2 separate regions of the Homo sapiens genome follow, and region 2 is linked to region 1. Evidence: promoter capture Hi-C in 16 types of primary human blood cells and fetal thymus (Javierre and others, 2016). All regions are on one chromosome and are shown on one strand. Each heading gives the region's core, a stretch centred on a gene start or on the middle of the fragment in contact. The rest is flanking DNA. Distances are from core to core; before and after follow the strand shown.

What was found. The method cuts DNA at HindIII sites, captures the fragments that hold promoters and counts their contacts. A CHiCAGO score of 5 or more calls a contact.
Region 2: a fragment that was not itself captured here is called in contact with the fragment with the promoter of DNAH10 in region 1 in 4 of 17 cell types (megakaryocytes, M2 macrophages, M1 macrophages and 1 more); the score reaches 8.8 in megakaryocytes.

Annotation. Positions count from the first base shown.
Region 1 is chr12:123,757,586-123,763,981 of GRCh38, reverse strand. It overlaps DNAH10 (dynein axonemal heavy chain 10), which reads right to left and starts at 1,681. Exons shown (of 79, transcript NM_001372106.1): 1 at 1,432-1,681. The coding sequence starts at 1,645. It overlaps ATP6V0A2 (ATPase H+ transporting V0 subunit a2), which reads right to left. Exons shown (of 20, transcript NM_012463.4): 20 at 2,227-6,055. The coding sequence ends at 5,950. RefSeq lists a silencer at 1,681-2,100. The HindIII fragment of the contact is 13,934 bases long and covers 1-5,929 here.
Region 2 is chr12:123,979,995-123,986,461 of GRCh38, reverse strand. The region is part of intron 2 of ZNF664-RFLNA (ZNF664-RFLNA readthrough); the gene reads right to left. The region is part of intron 2 of ZNF664 (zinc finger protein 664); the gene reads right to left. Among named protein-coding and RNA genes, the nearest start is that of ZNF664-RFLNA, 10 kb to the right of the region's middle. RefSeq lists an enhancer at 2,130-2,199 and a silencer at 2,390-2,449. The HindIII fragment of the contact is 1,812 bases long and covers 566-2,377 here.

The DNA of each region.
Region 1 (6,396 bases), core at 432-2,931:
AGTCAGGAGAATTGCTTGAACCAGGGAGGTGGAGGTTGCAGTGAGCCGAGATTGCACCACTGCACTCCAGCCTTGGCGACAGAGCTAGACTCTGTCTCAAAAAAAAAAAAAAGAAGTGGCCAGGTGCCAGATGGCTAACACCTGGAATCCCAGCACTTTGGGAGGCCGAGGCGGGAGGATCACTTGACCTCAGTAGTTTGAGACCACCCTGGGCAACATGGTGAAACCTGTCTCTACCAAAAATATAAAAATTAGCCAGGCATGGTGACGCATACCTGTAGTCCCAGCTACTCAGGAAGCTGAGGTGGGAGAATCACTTGAGCCCTGGAGGCAGAGGTTGCAGTGAGTCAAGATCGCACCACTGCACTCCAGCCTGGGTGACAAAGTGAGACCCTATCTCAAAAAAAAAAAAAAAAAAGTTAAAAAATAGAATACAATAAATGAATCTGCCTGGTACCTTTAAAAAAAAAATCAAAGGTCTGCCGGCCCTGCCACCCGAACCCAGTGAGAGGCCCTGCAAGGGATCCCCAAGTCCTTAAGGGGCTGGAAAAGTAGCCCAGGAGACTGGACAGCCAGGCAGGAGGTCCCGGTAGCTGTGCTCCAGCTGGTGCTCCTGCGAGGAGGCGGCTTTCGAGGTCCCAGTCTCCTTCTAGCTGTTTCTGAAGCGAGTTGTCCTGCCTCCTCCTCTCACCTGTGCTGGCCCCTCCCTGCCCTCTCAGTGTCCCTGGCCTATCAGAGAGTAGGTGGGGCTGGGGATCCGCCTCCACAGAGGGTTCTGGGACCCTGGTCACTGTCTTTTTGTATTTGCGATGCTAATTTGTTCAACATAAACATTTAAAGTCTACTGTAGTTTTTAAACTTTGTCCTAGCCTTATTTTACTTTTTAGGATATAAGGAGCCTCCAGAAGTAGAAAGGGGTGCTCTTCGGACCCTCCGTGAGAGGCTGCGACCGTCAAGGAGAGTGACAGTGACCTGGGTCCCTGCCACACCTGGGCATGGCTCTACCCAGCCGTTCGGATTATTGCACAGTGGATCTTGACGCCCCGTGGGCCTTGGGCAGGTTACTTAACCCCCTCCGTGCCAGTTTGCTCATCTGTAAAATAGGGATGAGGATACACCCGCCTCGTAGGGTTAAGGAGTTGATACAAGCGTTGGAACCGCACCTGGCACGGGGTGCGGGCTAAGTCAGTGTTTGCTGTGATTTTTCAATCAAGGCCTGACTTTCAAGTGGGCTGTGGGCCCAGGAGGGCAGGGACGGCTGTGATTGCTGGGTTCGCCCGGGGCCTGCACGTGGCGGGCGGCAGCGTTTGTGGACAGCACCTGAGGCCGGGGCCGGACGATGGGCAGGCTCTAGCAGCCCCGGCGCCCGCCGGAGAGGCCGGGACGGGCAGGAGGGAAGCCCGGGGAAGGGAGCGGCGCGTCGAGGCTCACCAATCTCCACCTCCACCTCCTCCGGCACCATAGTGCGGTAGATGAAGAGCGCCGAGGGCCCCTCCTCCTCGCTCGCCTGGTTGAGGAAGTGCAAGATGAGGTCCTCGCCCTGGCCGTCGTCGCGGTTGAGCAGGTCCTCGAAAAGCTGGGGGTCGGTGATGCCGAAAGCCGCATACACGCGGTCGCGCATCCACAGCACCCGCAGGTCGTCCATGGCGCCGCGCAGTGCAGAGGGAGCCGGGCGCAGGGCGGGCGTCCGTGGCAACGGCGGCCCTAGCAATGGGCGCCCCGGAAACGGCCGCAGCTCGCCCCGCCGACGGCGCCGGCGCTGGGGGCTGCAAGCTCGGCAGTGCCCCGCGCCCGGCCCCTCGATCCCGAACCCGCGAGCCGCAGCCCACGCCCCGGCCCCGGGATCTCGGAGGCGCGCACCAGGCCCCCGGGCCGCCGAGGTAGGCTGGTTGCTCCCTGGCCCCGGCAGCGCGCACGCCCCTGGATGCGGAGCGGGACCCTCGCCGCCAGGAGCCGCCCTCGGGCCGCTGCAGCCGAGGGTGCGACCCCACCCCACGCCGACCGGTTTGCAAGCAGCCCGCCCACCTTGCAGATGAAGCTGGGGCTAGAGAGTTGGCGAGACGAAGGTCACAGCACCTCGGCGGTGGCAGAGGCGGGATTAGAGGCCAGACGAGGAGGAAATAAGCCGAGAAAGCACGAGTTCCTCATGGCCTACAAAATCAGGGAAGGAGCAGAGTTCTTTAGCTTTCTTGCCAAACTAGAGCATAATAAAGCAAAACACCCACGTTTAAAAATATAGATATATTTATTTGTCATTAGCAAAAGGAAGTTAAATACTGATAGAAGATGCAAATTTGTCCTTTCATGCATTTGTGGAGCAAAGTACTAACTTGTTCACTGTCATTTCCCCTCACAAGGAGTTGAGCCCCTAGATGACTCAGGCTAACCCTAAGAACCTACCTAGCCTTCTTAGATATTCCCATCAAAGAACAGGTGGAGTGTACTAAGTATTTCTGAAAATTCTAAACCAAATCAGCAAAAATGGCCTGACTGTGGGAAGACTGTTCGTTCAAACTGCCTTATTCCCATCATCTTGATTTGACAGCTTCATAATAACCTTCCTGGATATATTCCCTGTGGCACGCAAGCAAACCCGGCTTTACGTTTTTAATAGAGGAATTTATTGTTTTAAATGCGGACTGTAGAATAGGTGTAGAAGTTGTTTTTCTTTTCCAAAATGTATCAGGCTCTAAAACGTCTGAATATGTAATTCATGGACATCGTAAGGCTGACCTATGCTACAGGTATTCTGTGCCTTATTAAACAACTGCAGAGGGCCAGGCGCGGTGGCTCACGCCTGTAATCCCAGCACTTTGGGAGGCCAAGGTGGGTAGATCACCTGAGGTCAGGAGTTTGAGACCAGCCTGGCCAACATGGTGAAACCCTGTCTCTACTAAAAATACAAAAATTAGCCGGGCACTGTGGCAGGCGCCTGTAATCCCAGCTACTCGGGAGGCTAGGGCAGGAGAATTGCTTAAACCCAGGAGGCAGAGGTTGCAGTGAGCCGAGACTGCACCACTGCACTTCAGCCTAGGTGACAGAGTGAGACACTGTCTCAAAAAAAATAAAAAAATTTTTAAATAAACAACTGCTGAGGGGATGCTGACACCAGAATGTTGTTATAAAATATCCATTCCAGAAACAGAGCAGCATTCAGCGAAAGAGGAGTTCCAAGTCCTTTCGCTGCTGGAAAGTCCGCAGGGCTCACCCAGATCCTATCAGACAGAACACCCTTTGCACTCCTTAACTGACCACGGCAATTACAGTCTCCAGCCCAGCAGGTTGAATCAAAGTCTAGTTTACTGAAGAAATCCCTTGGGTTTTAAGATTCTGTTAACACATGGTAATAAACATCTAAATAAAAACTGAGAAATGTCGTGTCGTGACATTTATCTTTAGGAAAATAAACATATTCAGTATCATCCACACAACTTGCCATCTGTGCTCTGGATCTCTGCTATCAAGGGAATGAAGTATGTTTTAAAAACTGGATACATAATAGGTTCTAGCAAAAGCCTTAACAAACAAAACTGAGCGATAACTCTGGTAACATGACACTGGAGCCCATCGCTTTATAGAGAAACAAATTCCCGTGGCCCCTATAAGACACTATTATCAAACTACATTTCCAGAGAGCGCTTTCCCAGAGTTAGGATTCTGAATTCGCTTTTCATATAATGACATTCTACATAAATACTACATAGATTTCAACAGAGAAATGACTGCATCCTCTGCTCTATGCTGAGAAGAGGTGTTAATTAGAAAGAGTTAAAAAAGTGGCCCCATGAGAATTACTAGTGGGGAGCAGTAAACAATTCCCGTGAATATCGTGTCCCTTATTTACCAATCAGCTAACAGTGCCCTGAAGTCTTGGGCTTCCTAGGGATGAAGTAGTTACCATTGTTTTTATGACAGACCCCTGGAGCAAAGTAACACAAATGTCCCCTTGTGGAAGCATCAGCTCTAGGTGAAAGCAACTCTGAGACCTGACCAGCACTGCTGGGATGTCATAGTCACCCAACACAAGTGCCCGACATGACACCTTTCTAGGGAAGCATAACTTTGAGAGCAGAATCATTTTCAAGCATTTCATCGGCATCATTTGATAATTTAATATGAGGGACAAAAAGCAGTAAGTCCAAACTGGCCTTGGGTAACATCTCATCAAGTAGCACACAGAATCTGTACTGTAATTGAAAGGGTTTAATTGTAAGTCACGGCTGTGTCAACGCTGTTCAGCTCATGCCTTGAAATCAGCTGCACAGCCACGTTAAACTCAGCACCTCCAGACTCTCAGCTTGTAACAGAAGTGCCAAGCTCTCTACCTCGAAACAGGATAGAGGAGGATGCGGGCAAATAGCCTTTTAACGTGTATCACTCACAATGTCAAGAAGGTGAAAAAAAGTCAGGTTTCTTTTTGAAAATAATTGTCTAAAATCAAACTAAAATATGAAAAATTAACATAATTTGCAAGAATATAGGTCAAAATGTTCAATAGGACTGACTCAAGTTCACAAAAAACCAAATGTCAAACAGATGAATTTAAACTAAAGATTATAAAACAATGGCTATTAAGAATTAGTTTTCAACTGATCTAAACAGTGTTTGAAAGTTTAAATTAACTCAATACTTTTATCAGAACTTTAGCTAGAAACAGTCTGAAAGTAAAAAAAGTATCATTAGACTGTTCTCAAGGATAAGTGCAATCTCTTCATGGTAAAATATCTTCATTTATATTTAGACTGTTCTCAAGGATAAGTGCAATCTCTTCATGGTAAAATATCTTCATTTATATTTTGTTACAAAAATATACAAAATACTACTTTTTACCTTTCCTTCACTCAGTATAAACCCTTCTGGTTCAGTGACATCAGCCAAGCTGTCACTAAATTCAAATCATGTCCGCATTATATCTTCTACAGTCACACTGGGTTTTAAGGCTCAGCATACAATTTATCTTCCAAACATACAATTATCATAACTGGTTTTATGTAAGGGTAACAGGATAAGAGTCTTTAAAAAAATATACAAGTGGGATAACCATTTGTTGTATGTCATTTTATCCCATTGTCCCCAATTACTAAAACAAGACAAAATTGTAAAAACAATCCTCTACTTGTAATTCTAGGTAGCACAGGATAAAAAATATTTGCATATTTTGGCCAGGCATGGTGGCTCACGCCTGTAATCCCAGCACTTAGGGAGGCCGAGGCAGGTGGATCACTTGAGGTCAGAAGTTCGAGACCAGCCTGGCCAACATGGTGAAACCCCATCTCTACAAAAATACAAAAAAATTAGCTGGTCACGGTGGCGCATGCCTGTAATCCCAGTTACTCGGGAGGCTGAGACAGGAGAATCACCTGAATCCAGGAGGCGGAAGTTGCAATGAGACACGATCGTGCCATTGCACTCCAGCCTACGTGACACAGCAAGACTTCATCTCAAAAAAAAAAAAAAAGTACATATTTTTAAATCCAGCAGAATAAATGTGAATGTTTTGATTACCCATCATTAAATTTTTTAAAAAACTATCCCTACTTCAGCTGTTGGAAAATATTATCTGGCAACTTCAGGTGACAGATTAACTCTGTTGTTTGTTTTAAATAAAGTTTAAAGGAAATAAGTATCTAATACCATTTTCAACTAGCCATGCAAAATTGGCTTCTCTCCCCAAATCCTGTATTTGAAAAAATAACTTTAACATAACGTTTGGCATTAACTTATATTTGCTCATCATAAAAAACCAAAAGAAATTTTTATATCTCAAATTGGTAAACTTTACAAAATATTTAACATATGAGGAAGAGGTATATCTTACAGAATTATTTGGCTATGTCATAAGGCAGTAATGAAGATGGAATTTTTCCTATCATAAATCTGACATAAGTGAAAGTCTATAACATGGTCATTCTCCATAAATCTGAAAGCTTGTTGGTTACAGCAATATGATCATGCCACACTGTCGTCGTTATTGAACTTTGATGAAAGTAGACTGAATGAGAAAGGAACAAATTTGGTGCCTGCACCAACGTAGAATTTGTTCTGAAATTCTACCCTAAAAAAAAAAAAAGCCATGTATTAATGGAAGATTATGAAATCACATTCCTTAAAACAACATTTATAAGTTAAAAAAAAAAATTCCTGTGCTGAAATTGCTTCATTCCAAAATATGTTCTTGGCACATATATTTTTACTTAGCTAAACACTGCCCCGCACCCCCAACCCCGTGCTGGCTTTCCCAGTGTGAACAGAAACTCTGACACATCCGCTGTCTCTCACTGCCCAACACACAAAAGCACGTGCACAAGTAACGAGACCCTCTCCTGCCACTTGAGTCACTGGAGGCACAGAGCAGTAATCTGACCTACACCATAAAACATTAAGAAATACATAAGA
Region 2 (6,467 bases), core at 222-2,721, 220 kb before region 1:
GAGCTAAAAGGTTAGAAAAGACATACAGAGGAGGGAAAAACAAGCCAGATGGCAGCAAGAGGAGAAAGACACAAAGAAATGAGTGATGCCGTGAGAGACCTCACTGTCCATGGGAAGACTGTGGCTTGTCTCTGGACAGCCTGAGTTCCTCATGGGTCTGATCCACATGCATCCTCCAATATAGCCCCTTGTACAGAAAGTGGTCTGAATGAAACTCTGTTCTTTGCAACAAAAAATCCCTAACTAAAACACTTCCTTCAACTCCCCCTTAAGATGAAGTTTTCCCAGGAGGTGCCTCAGTGCCACAAACAAACAGATTCTGGGCAAGCCCACCCCCTCCAGCCCCCCGCCAGACATGCCTAGACATACCCAATGTCCACTTCCCAGCAGAACTGGGATGTCTTATCTCTAGGTATATAGGCACAGTCCCTAAGGCTCATGAGCATCTCGAAGACCTATGTAAATGTTTCAGATCTGAAAAAAAACATTACTGGATGCAAAACATGAAAAGAAAATTGCAAAATTAAAGTTAATAAATGTTAAATGTCTATAGCCAATCAAAGCTTAACTCATATGGTTTTGTACAAGCTAATTTTATGTGGGACATGGGTGATTTAATGTTTGATATGACATAGTAAAGGCCTCCAAAAGTTTAATGGCTTAAGGCCTTCACAGATCTTCGCACCAGTCCCACAGCAGCGGACGTGTTTGGGCCTAAGCTGGAACCTGCCATTCCACCCCTTGGATAAGTGTATGCTTAAACTGTACGCCTGGCCGCTCAAACTGGGCACTCAGTCTAAAGTGAGAGGTCAAATCCCACCTCCCAGATTTAAACACAGTTATTTTACCACTTCTGATATTAGGAATCTGTTATCTTTTCTTAACGAAATATTTTAAATAAGTGAAGCCAAATAACTTCTATTAGCCATACTATTAGTTTTACCAAGAAGTTTTTTAAAATGTCATTTATGATAGCAAATGGTCTCATAGATTTAAAGGATTTAACATTTGACGTGTGTCAGAATAGTAAATCAAAAATCAGTCACATTTACTCTCTCCTGCAAGAACTCCCTCAAATGTCATGAATAGACCTAGACATTTTCTTCCTTCTGGTCAGATTCTCAATCTGAGAAGAGTAGGAAGTGGCACAAAAGTTACATGAAACTTAGATCTTATATTCTGAGATGATGGTGTTAAAAACAAAAAAGCAAAAATAATCCTTTCTAGAGTCATTGTTGATTACAGCTCTAATTTCATATGCACAGATAAGTGACATGTGTTCTCTGGAGCCATCCCCCGACTAAGACCAATTCACTCTTCTCACTTTCACTACTGAGCTCCTCCACAGCATCTATAATACCTTCTGTGTGCACCTCCCACACACCATTCTGTACCCCCACCCCCACTACAAAACTGCTCTCAGAGTCAAATCTTGGGGCCGTTCCTCCTGCCTCACCCTGAATCCTAGTCTACGGTCTCCTCGGCTCCCAGTTCCCTGCACATTCTCACTTTTCCTCTGGCCTTGCTGATTGTGTCTGCCATCTCACATGCCTATGCCTAAATATAGGAGTCCTCCATACAGTATGTCCTGTCTCCATTTTTTAGCTCAACTACCTGCTTGGCTGGAATGATGACCATTTCCATGATGATGATGCCACAGTTTCTTAACACAGTCTTTTCTTCTTACCTGTATCTCCAACTGCCTACTAGAATTATTTCCCCATCATCCCACGATAAACTGAAAATCACTACTTTGACAAACTCAAAGTCCCTATAAAAGGCAACTTCTTCCCTCAACAGATCTCCCAGGCAAAGAACTTTGAAACCAACTCTCTCCTCCTCCCCGGCCCCCACACCCCTTTCAACTGTTTTCTTTCTGTGCTTGTTTCTTCCCTTCAGCATTTAAACACAATGCAGAAGTCTCCCCCAACCTTAAGGAAAAACAGCATTTAATCCCAGGCCTTCTCTAGCTACCCTGTCTCCCTGGCCCCACCCTCCATTTCCCCATCCAGACCTCTTAAAGACTGATTTTTCCAGATTTCTATTGCTTCACTTCCCACTCATGCCTCAATCCAACACCACACCACCGAGGTTCCTCTCTCATTGTCGGCCTTCTCTTGGCCAATCCAAGGGCACTTTTTGTTCTTTATCCCACTGGACATTACTGGCCACACTCCCTTGGCTCCTTCTGTGACCCTACGGCCTCTGTGTTCTACACTCACTGCATAAACCCAGTATTATCAGTTGGCCGGGCAAGCTCTTGTAAACACTAGTTCATTCCCATGAGTTCCATCTCCCCTCTCCTCTGCTCCTAACATCCACACCAGTTTCAACCATCTCGCCCACTGGTTCTCAACTCTGGCTGTGAAAGAAAGCTTTGCTAGGAGTCCACATTTCAACTGTTCACAAGGCCTCCAGAGGGCACTCAAACACCTGCTCAGAAACCTCGGCTCTTCACACTAAGGAGTTAGGACTTGAAATCAATGTCACAATGGGTTACTACCTCTAGTTGCCAAGCATCATGAAAATGCATGCAACCCGCTTTGTGCAGGTTCTCTGATTCTAACTGTGAGTCTGGAGGCTTACCACAAGGTCCTAGTCCTATCACAATGTAAAGTTATAGTATTAAAAGTAATTTATTGAACATCGGTTAACTGAGAAACTTGACATGTTTTCTAGCCAACACCGAGTACTTTGAATCAATGAAATATTCTTAAACCCCCATCAGGCTCAATCCTAAACATATTTGAACTACACATCCAAAAGTGATATTTTGAAAGCCAGAGGGACATACAGGATTTACTCTGCAGAAGAAAAATGGTTCCAATTATTTCTATGAACTGTTGTATTGTTAACCTAAGTGGCAGAGTTCATCATCTTTGGGACAGGGGTCTGCTCTGGCTATAAAGGCTTCCTCACAAGCTCTGTCACAATATCATAGAACACACTGCAAAATAAGATATGGAAATAACCTATGATTATTTTATGAACTTTCAGGGGTATGAAAAATAAATGAGTTCTAGAATAGCTTTACTGAATTTCTTATAATGTATCAAGTGACACAAGAGACACTGTGTATTTCAGAATCAGAATAAAGGTGTAGAAATGTTTTAGCGTTAAAAAGCAATACGAATTATATTTTTAAAATTACATTTTGAATGCTTCTGCTACATCTTCAAAATTAAATTGTATTTTAAAAATTCTCTTCTTTCAGTGTCTTACAAATGAGTAATCATAGCCATTGGTTCCACCTTGTGACTCTCCCACATGGATTAGCTGTAGCACAACTTGCTTGCTTTCTTTTTTTATTTTTTTGAGACAGGGTCTCGCTCTGTCACCCAGGCTGGAGTACAGTGGCGTGATCATGGCTCACTACAGCCCTGCCTTCCAGTGATGCTCCCACCTCAGCCTCTTAAGTAGCTGGAACCACAGGTGTGTGCCACCATGCCTGGCTAATTTTTGTATTTTTGGTAGAGACGGGGTTTTGCCATGTTGCCCAGGCTGGTCTCAAACTCCCAGCCTCAAGCCATCTGCCTGCCTTGGCCCCTCAAAGTGCTGGGATTACAGGCATGAGCCACCATGCCCAGTAGACACAACTTTCAACCTGGGCTGAAAGACTTCAATTTGCTAAATCTAAGATTCACTCCTGATCCCTTTATTACATCTCTAGGCCGTTTGAAACTACTGCTCCTGTCCATTCTTGAAACTTTCTAACTTCCAGGACGTCTCTCCTGAGTGTCCTCGTCTGCACTCCCTTCTAGCCAGTCCACCAGGCTCACACTAAATGAATCTGCTCCTGTAAGCGCTGCAACAGTAAAACCGATACGGTGAGCGTGGAACCCAAGCTAAGCCAATCAGATTGTCCTTCTAGAGAATTTGGAATTGGGAAGTGGGAAGTGGAAAGACTGGGTCTGTGATGTGAGCTGGCAGAAGTTAGAGTTTCAGAATGGCCTTCCAGAGTGACCACCTGGGGTCACGTGTTATTTACTGCCAAGCGAGAGAAGAGATTAGGGGGAGGGCAGGCACACATAGAAGCATAGGGCAGACACACAGTGAGCAGGAGAAGCCTGGGAGATGAAGGCAAAGAGCACAGCCACACTGACTGCCACCAACTTCCCAGCGACTGGGCCCCAACCTCTGATGAAGACATCTACCTTCCTCTCTAATGACTTCTGTTACCTTGGCAGGCACTTTCTCCGCTACCTTTTCTCCACTTGTCCTTCAAGGTACCCATGCTCCAGCCATACTATTAACAGCCAGGTGGGCACTCACACATGGATGAAAGGGCACCACTCTGCCTATTTCCTGGCCTGCCCCTACGTGGAAGGGACCAGTTTACCAAGATGAAGAGAAATCACTCCCAGAAGTCAGGTGTACTCTGACAACAGGATGACTGACAAAAGGACCACTAATGCCCAGAGGAACCTCCACCACCCACTCAGAGAGGCAAGAGTCTACCCAATGAACCCCAAAGACAATCATGGTATTATCTGAAGTCGAGGTCATGCAGTCTCAAATAATTCTATGTGAAAAATATCAATGGTCCAGTCTATCTAGACAGATATGCCCCAATTTACAGAAGTACAACTATATTGCAAGAAAAATTTACCATGTAGAAATATTGATTTTAATACCATAGCTATGTATAGTATCTAGTCATTCTTACAGCAAAACATGTGTACTGTAAAATTATTCTTTGTAAATCCTCTTCGTGACACACCTATGTGTCCTATAAGACCTTCAAACTCAAGTACATCCAAAACTGAATCAGTCACTTCCTCACCAAAGCCTACTATATTCCTGTCTTAATCTGTTTTCTATTGCTTACAAGAGAATACCTGAAACTGGATAATTTATGAAGAAATTTATCTCTTACAGTTATGGAGGCTGAAAAAGCCCAGGACCACATCTGGTGACAGCTCTCCTGCTGGTGGGGACTCTCCAAAGAGCCCTGAGCCGGCACAGGGCATCACACGATGAGAGGGGGCTGAGCATGTTAACATGCTGTCTCAGATCTCTTTTCTTTTTATAAAGCCCCCAGGTCCCCTCCCATGACAACCCATTAATCTATGAATGGCTCTGCCCTCATGAGCCAAACCTCTGAAAGGCCCCACCTCTCAACACTGTCACATTGGGGATTAAGTTTCAACATGAGTTTTGGAGGGGACAAATATTCAAACCATAGCCAATTCCCAACTATAGTAAATGAGTCCACTCTCCCCTCAATTGCCCAAGTCAATATCATTGACTTCCCCCCATCACAAAGGTCTAGCCACTCTCTTCCAAATACCTCTGGAAACTCTCCACTGTGTACCTGCATTGTCTCAACTTAACTCAAGCCACCATCATCTTCCCTGGAATTCTACAAAAGCCTCCAGTCTTGCTTCCCTCTAATCCATTATCTACTCTAATGTAACCTTCTAAAATGCAAAATGGATTGTTCTTACCCTACTCACAAGTTTTCAATGGGTCCCAATCATTTTCAGTGTAAATTCCAAATTTATTCATTGGCTTTAACCAAAAAAAAAAGTGCTCATGTCTATTTGCCATGTAGCTATCATGTCCCAGATATACTTTGTTAAATCAAATGTTCCATCATACATGTAATACAGGTACATGTAATCTTGGCAAATACAAAAAAGATTATTTAAATCACCCGACATCCTACCGAATTCCACAATTCTTAAGATTTCCATCTAATTTCTTCTACATATTTTTGCCATTCATAGGTTTTACTGGAAGGCTGCTGGGACTTTTTTTGGGGCGTTTTCATCATATCAGGTATACAATTGTGTATCCTGATTTCCTTCCACTTAACACTATCATAAGCATTTTAATATATTTTCTTCATAAACGTTTTTAATGGCAATGTTATTTGCCACTAAATATATGATATAGGGGATGTATCATAACCATTCTGCAAACTGTGCCCATAAATATAATTCTACAATATACATATTTTGTGCAGAAAGCTTTTCTCTGTATTTAAAAATATTCTTTTGATGGTTCCTAGACCATCAAGAAATGTAAATAATTTTAAGACTCTTGACACATATGGCCAATGTAACATAAGAGTGTGTCATTTTTACCACATCCTTTTAGGTACTAGGCACTGTATATTTTTGTCTAAATCTAGACCTTCATGAAATTGGTGAGAAATTGTAACATCTTCCTTACAAAAGTAAATGCCCATTGTAAAAAAAACTGAAGCAATGCAAACACATGTGATATGAAAAACCAGTCTCCCCTAGGCTTTTCCCATGAAGTAATCAGAATTAAATGTTTTCAGGTATTCTAGTCTTTTTCTAATTCTTATTCAGAATATATATATATACACACACTCACCCTTCATTATTTTGTTTTGTATCTTACAAAAAATGAGATTAAGCTTGCTTTTTTGGCTCAACAGTATATTCTAGACATCCATACAGGCTATGTCAGTACATACAAATCTACCTCTCTATATA